Regions from separate parts of the Homo sapiens genome. Here region 2 is linked to region 1. The links are contacts of gene promoters, found by promoter capture Hi-C in blood cells and fetal thymus (Javierre and others, 2016). All regions are on one chromosome and are shown on one strand. Each heading gives the region's core, a stretch centred on a gene start or on the middle of the fragment in contact. The rest is flanking DNA. Distances are from core to core; before and after follow the strand shown. Region 1 holds the start of TBKBP1 (TBK1 binding protein 1). Region 2 overlaps CDC27 (cell division cycle 27).

Evidence for each region. Contacts are between HindIII fragments. The CHiCAGO score rates a contact against its expected background, and 5 or more counts as called.
Region 2: a contact is called between a fragment that was not itself captured here and the fragment with the promoter of TBKBP1 in region 1, in 1 of 17 cell types (erythroblasts). The highest score is 5.4, in erythroblasts.

Annotation. Positions count from the first base shown.
Region 1 is chr17:47,691,830-47,695,410 of GRCh38, reverse strand. It overlaps TBKBP1 (TBK1 binding protein 1), which reads right to left and starts at 1,250. Exons shown (of 10, transcript NM_001394755.1): 1 at 1,217-1,250. RefSeq lists enhancers at 1-134, 135-814, 815-1,495 and silencers at 592-651, 902-1,031. The HindIII fragment of the contact is 10,063 bases long and covers 1-3,581 here.
Region 2 is chr17:47,116,761-47,120,481 of GRCh38, reverse strand. CDC27 (cell division cycle 27) reads left to right here. Exons shown (of 19, transcript NM_001256.6): 19 at 1-2,779. Among named protein-coding and RNA genes, the nearest start is that of CDC27, 71 kb to the left of the region's middle. RefSeq lists an enhancer at 72-682. The HindIII fragment of the contact is 164 bases long and covers 1,473-1,636 here.

The DNA.
Region 1 (3,581 bases), core at 1-2,500:
CCAGGTGGAAGGGGACGCGAACGAATTCCCAAGGCTGTCTCAGGGTGCCCGCGCACCGGGAAATGGGGAACCCTACGAGGGGGCAGGAATGACTCAGGCTCCCGAAAGCAGGAGTAGGCAGTGAGGGGGTGCGTGTGTACTTCTCTCGGGCCTGGTTATGAATGTGTGTCTGGGGTTGGCGTATGGGGGGAGTGTGCGTCTGTGAATGAGTGTAGGTGTGTCAGTCAATGAGTGCCTTCGGGGTCGCAGGGGCGTCGGGACGGAGTGGGGCAGCGACCAGGAGGCTGGTGTGTGCACGCGTGCGTGAGCGCGTGGGCAGGGTGGCACGTCCGGGCCGCGTGTCACGTGAGACGCGAGGGGACTGTCCGAGGTGTGTGCGCGCGCTGGAGCGTTATGTGCACCCCGGAGAGGGGGCTCGGCAGGGAGCTGTGAGTTCAGACAGCGGGGCCCCCAGGTCGGGCTGCAGGAGCTTGGGGTGCAAAGGGCTCCGGCGCAGGCTCCAATTCAATCCACCCCCCCCCCTCCGCCACCCACAGGCCCATCTAAGTGCCAGGGAAACGCGAGTGACTGGGTCTGAGTAAGGAGTGTGTGCGCGCGTTTGTAGGGCCGGCCCCACCTTTAACCCTCTCCTTCCCACGCCATCCCCTCCCCCCAGCTCCGCGCGCCAGCGCTTACCACACCCCCCCAGACCCCCGCCCGCCCCTCTGCGCCCACCCCGCTGGCGGGGCTCTGTCCCCGAGGCCGCACCACAAATGCCTCCTTCCTCCGCATTCCTCTCTGGGCCCAGCGCCCGGGTGAGCGCAATGGAAGGCGGCTGGGGAAGGGGTGAGTGCCTCTGTCGGCCCGGGCCCCTCCTGCGGCCCCTTTAAGAGCCGCCCTTTAAACCCCTTTCGCTCGGCCGACAGAAATTGTCGCCCCTCCCCTCTCGGGGGCCGAGACCACGCAGCCCCCTCCCCCACAACCGGCCGAGCCCTGGGCCCCCGGACACCCTCTCGGGGCCGGGGAAGGGGCTCCGGGAGTGGCGCGGCCTGAGGAACGGCGGCGGAGGGGGACGCGAGGGGATGAGGGCGGCCGACACCGGACCCCTTCCCTCCCAGCCATCCCGTGCGGCTGCCAGCCGCCCTCCTGCCGCCTCCTCCTGCCCACCCCGCGACCCCTGGGGCCCAGCCCGGGCGCCGCTCCCCTCCCCCAGCCCTAGCCCCAGCCGGGGACTCACAGCTGCTGCCGGTTCCTGCTTGTAATCGCAGCTTACCCCCTCCGCCTGCTCCCTCCCCAAACGGGCACCAGTGCCCCCACCCCCCTGGTACCGCGCTCTGCTCCTCGCCCTGTCGCCGCCGCCGGGTCTCTCCCCACCCCCCACCCCTCCCCCCAACCCCCTCCCTCCCGTCCGCCCCGCTCCTCCTCCGCCGCCGCCGCCTCCTCCGCCTCCTCCTCCCCGGCTGCTCCGGGTTTCTCCAGCTGGGAAGGCGCCCCGGACCCCGCCGCTGCCACCACCACGTGGCGAGAGGCGGCGGCCCCTACGGTGCGGCCCTTCCTGGCAGCGCGCCCGGAGCCCACCGGCTCCCTGCGGCGCCAGCGGCCCGCGCTGGCGCCCCCTCCCCGACGCCTCCCGGCGCAGTGTGGCGTGGTGGCGTGTGTTGGGGGCGTCTGCGGTCAGTGCAGGGGCCCGGCTGATGCTTTGGTTGTTTTGGTTGTTTAGTTATGGGCTGTATATTTGGGGAGGAAGTGGGGCTATTTATCTGGCTTTTTTTTTTTTTTTTTGGTCTTTGCGCTTTTGAGAAGGAAATCATTAGACCTGCTCTTCGTTGCTCTTGGTAAAAGGGGCATTGCTGCGATAAATACATTGAACATAGGGTACAGAGAGATTAAAGCTGTAACTTCTTTGGAAGTGAGAGTAAACTAAGGAGGTCAAAGATTCATTCATGAAGAAGGACAGCCATCTCCCTCCCCACACACCACTCCCCGGCCACCCTCAAGTACCCACAGGTCAGGGAAATGAAGAAACAACAGATGTCACCCTGTGCACAAAGATTATTTGAGCACCTGCCAAACTGCTGGGCAAGAGAAACAAGTTTTTTGCTACTTTCCTGCTGTGTGACCTTGGGCAAGTTACCTTAACCTTTCTAAGCTGGAGATCATGCCCCACCTAAGCACTCTCATGGAGGAAGAATGGGGATCAGAACTAAATACAGCAGCCTGCGAATGCTCAGGAAGTGTTAACGATGTCATTTTGAGTATTGCCTGGTGGATTAAATAATGTGGACAGAGGCATGGTCAGCCTAGCTGCAGGTAGAGAATGATCAGGGGAACCCTGGAGCACTCTGGCTGAAGAGCATCCTCTGTGGACAGGGAGGCAAAGCCCGGAAGCAGGGGATAAGCTGGGCGGGGGCTTTTGGCAGATTCAGCCTTAGCTGCGAAGACTGCTGGGAACCTGAGCCTACCTTTTTGGCTCCTGAGGTGGGATGGGGGTGGGAATCTCCGAGGGGGAGGATGGAAGGAAAAGGTTTCTTGCTCTCTCTGAGCTTTGAAAAGCAGCAGCTGCCATCTTTCCTCACTGCTGGGAGAAAATTGGACTGAGAGGTGAGCTTCTACCAGGAGAGCCAGCCAGAGCTCTAGACTCATTCTCTTCATAGAAGGGGGGATTCTCAGTGGCTTCCTTCCTCCTCCTCCTGCTGGGTTCCCTTTCAGTCTTTCCTGCCAGCACTGGCTCCCGTTTGTAGTCCAGAACAGGAAGGCAGGTCAGCCACTTGTTCTCTGAGGCACTAGCTTTCTCTGAACCATGTGGGATGACCTATCTACCCTCTAGATATGAAGGCAAACCAGTGGGGACATCTGTCACCCCACTAATCCCAAGGGCTAGGCAGATGTTCCTTTCCCTAGTACTCCCCAAGATCTCTTCTGAAGCAAGGGACCAGGCAAAAGATTGGAGGCTAGACTAGGAGGTGTAGGGTTGTCTCTGGGACCCTCGGTGACCTTGGACTTGGCCACAAACAGGACCCATAAGACCAACTGGCAAGCCCTCCCTCACTGGAAAAAGGGGTCCCAGGACCCTCTAAGCACACACTGTCTGGGATGAGTCATCAGCCCCCTGCTGCTGCTTGGATGCTCAGGGCCTAATTGAGTCACCTGGCAGGGTGCAGCCAAATGCTTCTATCCTTGGTTCTAGGTGGTTGGTGGCAAAAGTCCATTAGGCCTGGTTTAGGTGCCCTAAAATCCTCCCCCTCCCCCAATCTGGACCTGATCTCATTGCATTCTCCATTTCTAGTTCTGCTGCTCATACCAGGCAGTTCTGAGAGCAGAGATTATATCCCATCCATCCTTGTATTCTAAGGTGCCCTGAGGGTTGGTACCTGCTCGTTGTATATTTATTCGGCAAAGATTTCTTGAACATCTATTATGTGCTGGGTGCTGAGAATACAGTGCTGAACATGTCTCTGACAGGTATACATGTCTCTTGCTCTCTTAGAGCTTGCAGTATGGTAGAGAAGTCAGAAAAATAAAAAGATGAATAAGTAAAACCACTAGAAATTGTGATAAAGGACCAGGCACAGTGGCTCATGCCTGTAATCCCAGCACTTTGT
Region 2 (3,721 bases), core at 305-2,804, 580 kb after region 1:
TTGCAAGTGCCAGATGGAACAATAAAAGACGTTGCCTATAACAGTGACTTGATTGCCAAGGAATGTAAATTACCTTAAACTTGCAGTATCTCCCATAAACAAATGTAATGGGCATATTGGGACTCGTATGTAGGAATCAAATATCCCTCCATACAGTGTACTCTTATTCTTGGCAAGAATGCTTTAATGTCTAACCAAGAATTTTAATTTATTCATCTTGCTTCAAAGTGTTGATCATTGTTGTCTTGGTATTGCAAACTTTAAAATTGTTTCTTACCATATTGCCTCTTCTCTTTGAGCTCTGTGGGATCACCTTTAACATTCAGAGATGATAGAGTGGTTCCCCACTGAGAAGCCAAAACAAGGCCCTTAATAACCCCTTAAGTTCACCATATGAATCAGAAGGAGAACACTAAAGTGGAGAGACTTTTAAGAGATCATGATAGTGAAAGCCTTAATATAATCAGAATTGTACCATAACCTTGAATCTATATTTGTTCAAAACATCCCTTTGACTTTTCTAAGTGTTTGCTTAAGCAGAGTGTAAGAATGTGTGGTTACCTTTGGTTGAGATCCTTTCCATTCTTTTTGACTCTCTGCTTCAGATTTTTTCAGTAGTGTGAGTCACCAAAACATTTACTAAGAGTAATTGGGTTTAGGATGTTGGAAATTTTTAGCTTGGGGGAAAAAACATTCTTATGAAGGAGATAGGTTCTCTTCTGAGTTTGTCATAATATAGATTGGTGTCTTTGGAAAATGGCCACAATTTTAAGAATTCAATTATGCATATAAAATGATAATTATTGGAATTCCACAGTAACAGATTTAAACAGTCTTAAATTGTTTATCTCCTTTACTGTAATGTATTGAAATTTTTAGAGAAATTTTAGTTGTTAACATTTTATTAAGTGCCAGTGTCAGAATATAACAAATTATAGTTTCTTATGAATGACAGGCCTACAGTTATTATTCTGGATTATTTGATGGAGGACAAACTTACCTGTATTTGTTAGTCAAGCTGTGAAAATAAGGTGGATTACAAAAGATGTGAAAAAAATTTTAGTCTGTAGACTCAGTAATTTTCTATAATTTACTGTTAATCTCATTTGAACATGGATTAGGTACAATTTATAAATTAATTCAAGTCAGGGTCTTTAGGTATCAGGTGCCAGAGAGATATTTAACAGATTTCCCTACCTAAATTTATGTATATGTACTGTCTAAAACAATACTTTTTTAAAAAAAAGGAACAGTTGGGAGAAAATAAATATAATGAAAAATTCCCAGAGGCTAGCACTTGGATTCTAACACGTATGCTATTGTATTATCCATTAGTTCTGTAATATTTAATTTTAGATTCTTTTATTTTTTTAATTGGCAAAGCACAAGGTGCTGTATAACAGTGTCATTTAGAGTTTTATAGAAAGCTTCAACCTGAGTTCTGCGTTATAAAGCCTGGAGAAAGCTAAGCTTAGAACATAACTTGCTGAAGTATAATTATCTTTTTGTAGCAGGAATTTATGTGCCAGAGGTGAGAGTCTTTCTGGTACTGATTTTTTGAGACCAAGGATAAAAGGATCGTTTTGTAAGACATGCCATGGCAATGGCTGGTTGGGGGACAGTTTCCGCCCAAGCTTGGCCTATTTTATTTTTCCTCATACCTACTTTCAAAGTCATTTAGGTATTTGAAGCCTTATTTCCCACGTAGTAACACTTTCTGGCTTTTGCAGTTTCTTTTTTTGTTTGGTTTTGTTTTTTGCATGGAATGGGGATCAAACAACCCGAAGAAGAACACATTTTGATCAAGCAAAATGTTTGCTTCAAATTTCAGAAGTTTATTTTACAGAAATTAAATTAAGTAGTTTGACATCCTTTTCTCTGTTTCACACATATATTAGGTTGGTGCATAAGTAATTGTGGTTTTTGCCATGACTTTTATGGCAAAACCTGCAATTACTTTTGCACCAACTTAATACATCTATATACATATATATATACGCGCACACACTTGTTCAGAAGTTATGTTGTGGCCTTGGATTTGTTTTTCCCCTTGGAAATGGTTCTTAACTCTGGGATTTTAGAAGGTTAGAATATTTTTTCAAGAGAACAGTGGTACTCAAAAGAATGAAAGGTGGTCCCTACATTTTCTGTATTCATCACTTAAAATTTTTAATTTTTCCGAGAACTACAAGTAACATTTGAACCATGCTGCTGTTGTACCTTAAACAAAAACTCAGTGATAACCAGTATTTAGTCTATTAAAAATGCTCTTTTTGAAGAAAAAAGTTTGGAAGTCTCTGATTAGCCAGAGTATAGTATGAGTCTTCACTGAGAAATATGGTGACCCATTTTCTTTGTGAAAACCTGGGAAAATGCAAGTGTGGGTATGAAGTGTGTGTTCTGTTTGCATTGAAACAATGTAATTTTGTGTCTTCTTTTTGCTTTAACTGACTTATTTCAGAAATTGTACAGTGTTGAGGGGGAAAGTCTTTTCTGTTAATATATTTGCAATTCATTAAAGGATATGGAAAATCCAAATAAGTTACTTTTGAAAGCAATTTATAATCAAGTTGTTAAAGCTATATGAAAGCTGTGCCATCTGTATTTTAATAAGAAGGCACAGAAAAACAGAGATACAGTTTTATGTTTCACAAAAAACTAGAGCAATGTTTATCTAATTTTTTAAAACTTACACTCTTAATATATTTATATTTTTAAACGGTCATACTCTTTTTTAGTATTATTTGGAATATCAAAATAAATACTATGACAAAAACAATGGTAATTTTTAGAATACCTTTTTTCAAACTACAGAAGCCCCTTACCAACCAGCAGCTGCGAATTTGCAAGTCAACTGCTTATTCTTTGATCACGTGATTTCTGAAATTTCTTCAAAAGGGACACAAAGGTTTTTTTGTTCCAATTAGAATCTATTTAAAAAGGTCAGGATCTGAAAGAAGTAAGATGTAGAAACTAAATTTTACTCTAATTTGAAATTTTTTTTTTTTTGGTATCTTGGAGAAAGTACAAAGAGCTGAAGGGTTTTATTCAGACTTGAAGAAAAGGCAGTAACAGGGAAAAACATGTGAAGGTGGGGTGAGCTGGGCAGTTCCAAGGGGAACAATGCAGACCTCATAACCTTCCCTAGGACCTGCCATTTAATGTCAGCTGAACAAGGATAAACAGCAGCTTAGACATGGAGCTATTCTTTGGCTTGTTTAGCTGACAACTTATGGTTCATGAAGGTTCAGTATAGGTTTTATTTTTCTTTGTAAGTGCAAACTTTGTTTAAAAGCTATGTTTGCTGAGATCCTGGTCTATGGATTGTGTTACTTGCTTTGTGGATGGTATTTTCAATTCTCATCACTAGAAGGTAGGTATTACTTCATTTTACAAAACAGAAAACAGGCTCAGCTATTAAATGATAAAACTGGGCACTTTTGGCATTAGTGTATGTTCAGAATCTTATATTTTAGTTTTGGACTTCCTCTGGAGGTTTCAAGTCATATTTAATGGTAACTGTAAGTTGTCTTCTCTAGCATTTTTTTAAAGACAGTCTCGCTCTGCCCCGCATCCTGGAGTGCAGTAGTATGATCATAGCTCACTGCAGCCTCGAACTCCTGGACTCAAGCAATCCTCCCACCTCAGCCACCCAGGTAGCCAGGACTAAACATGCACCACGACACCTGGCTCATTTTTTATTTTTTATTTTTGTAGAGTC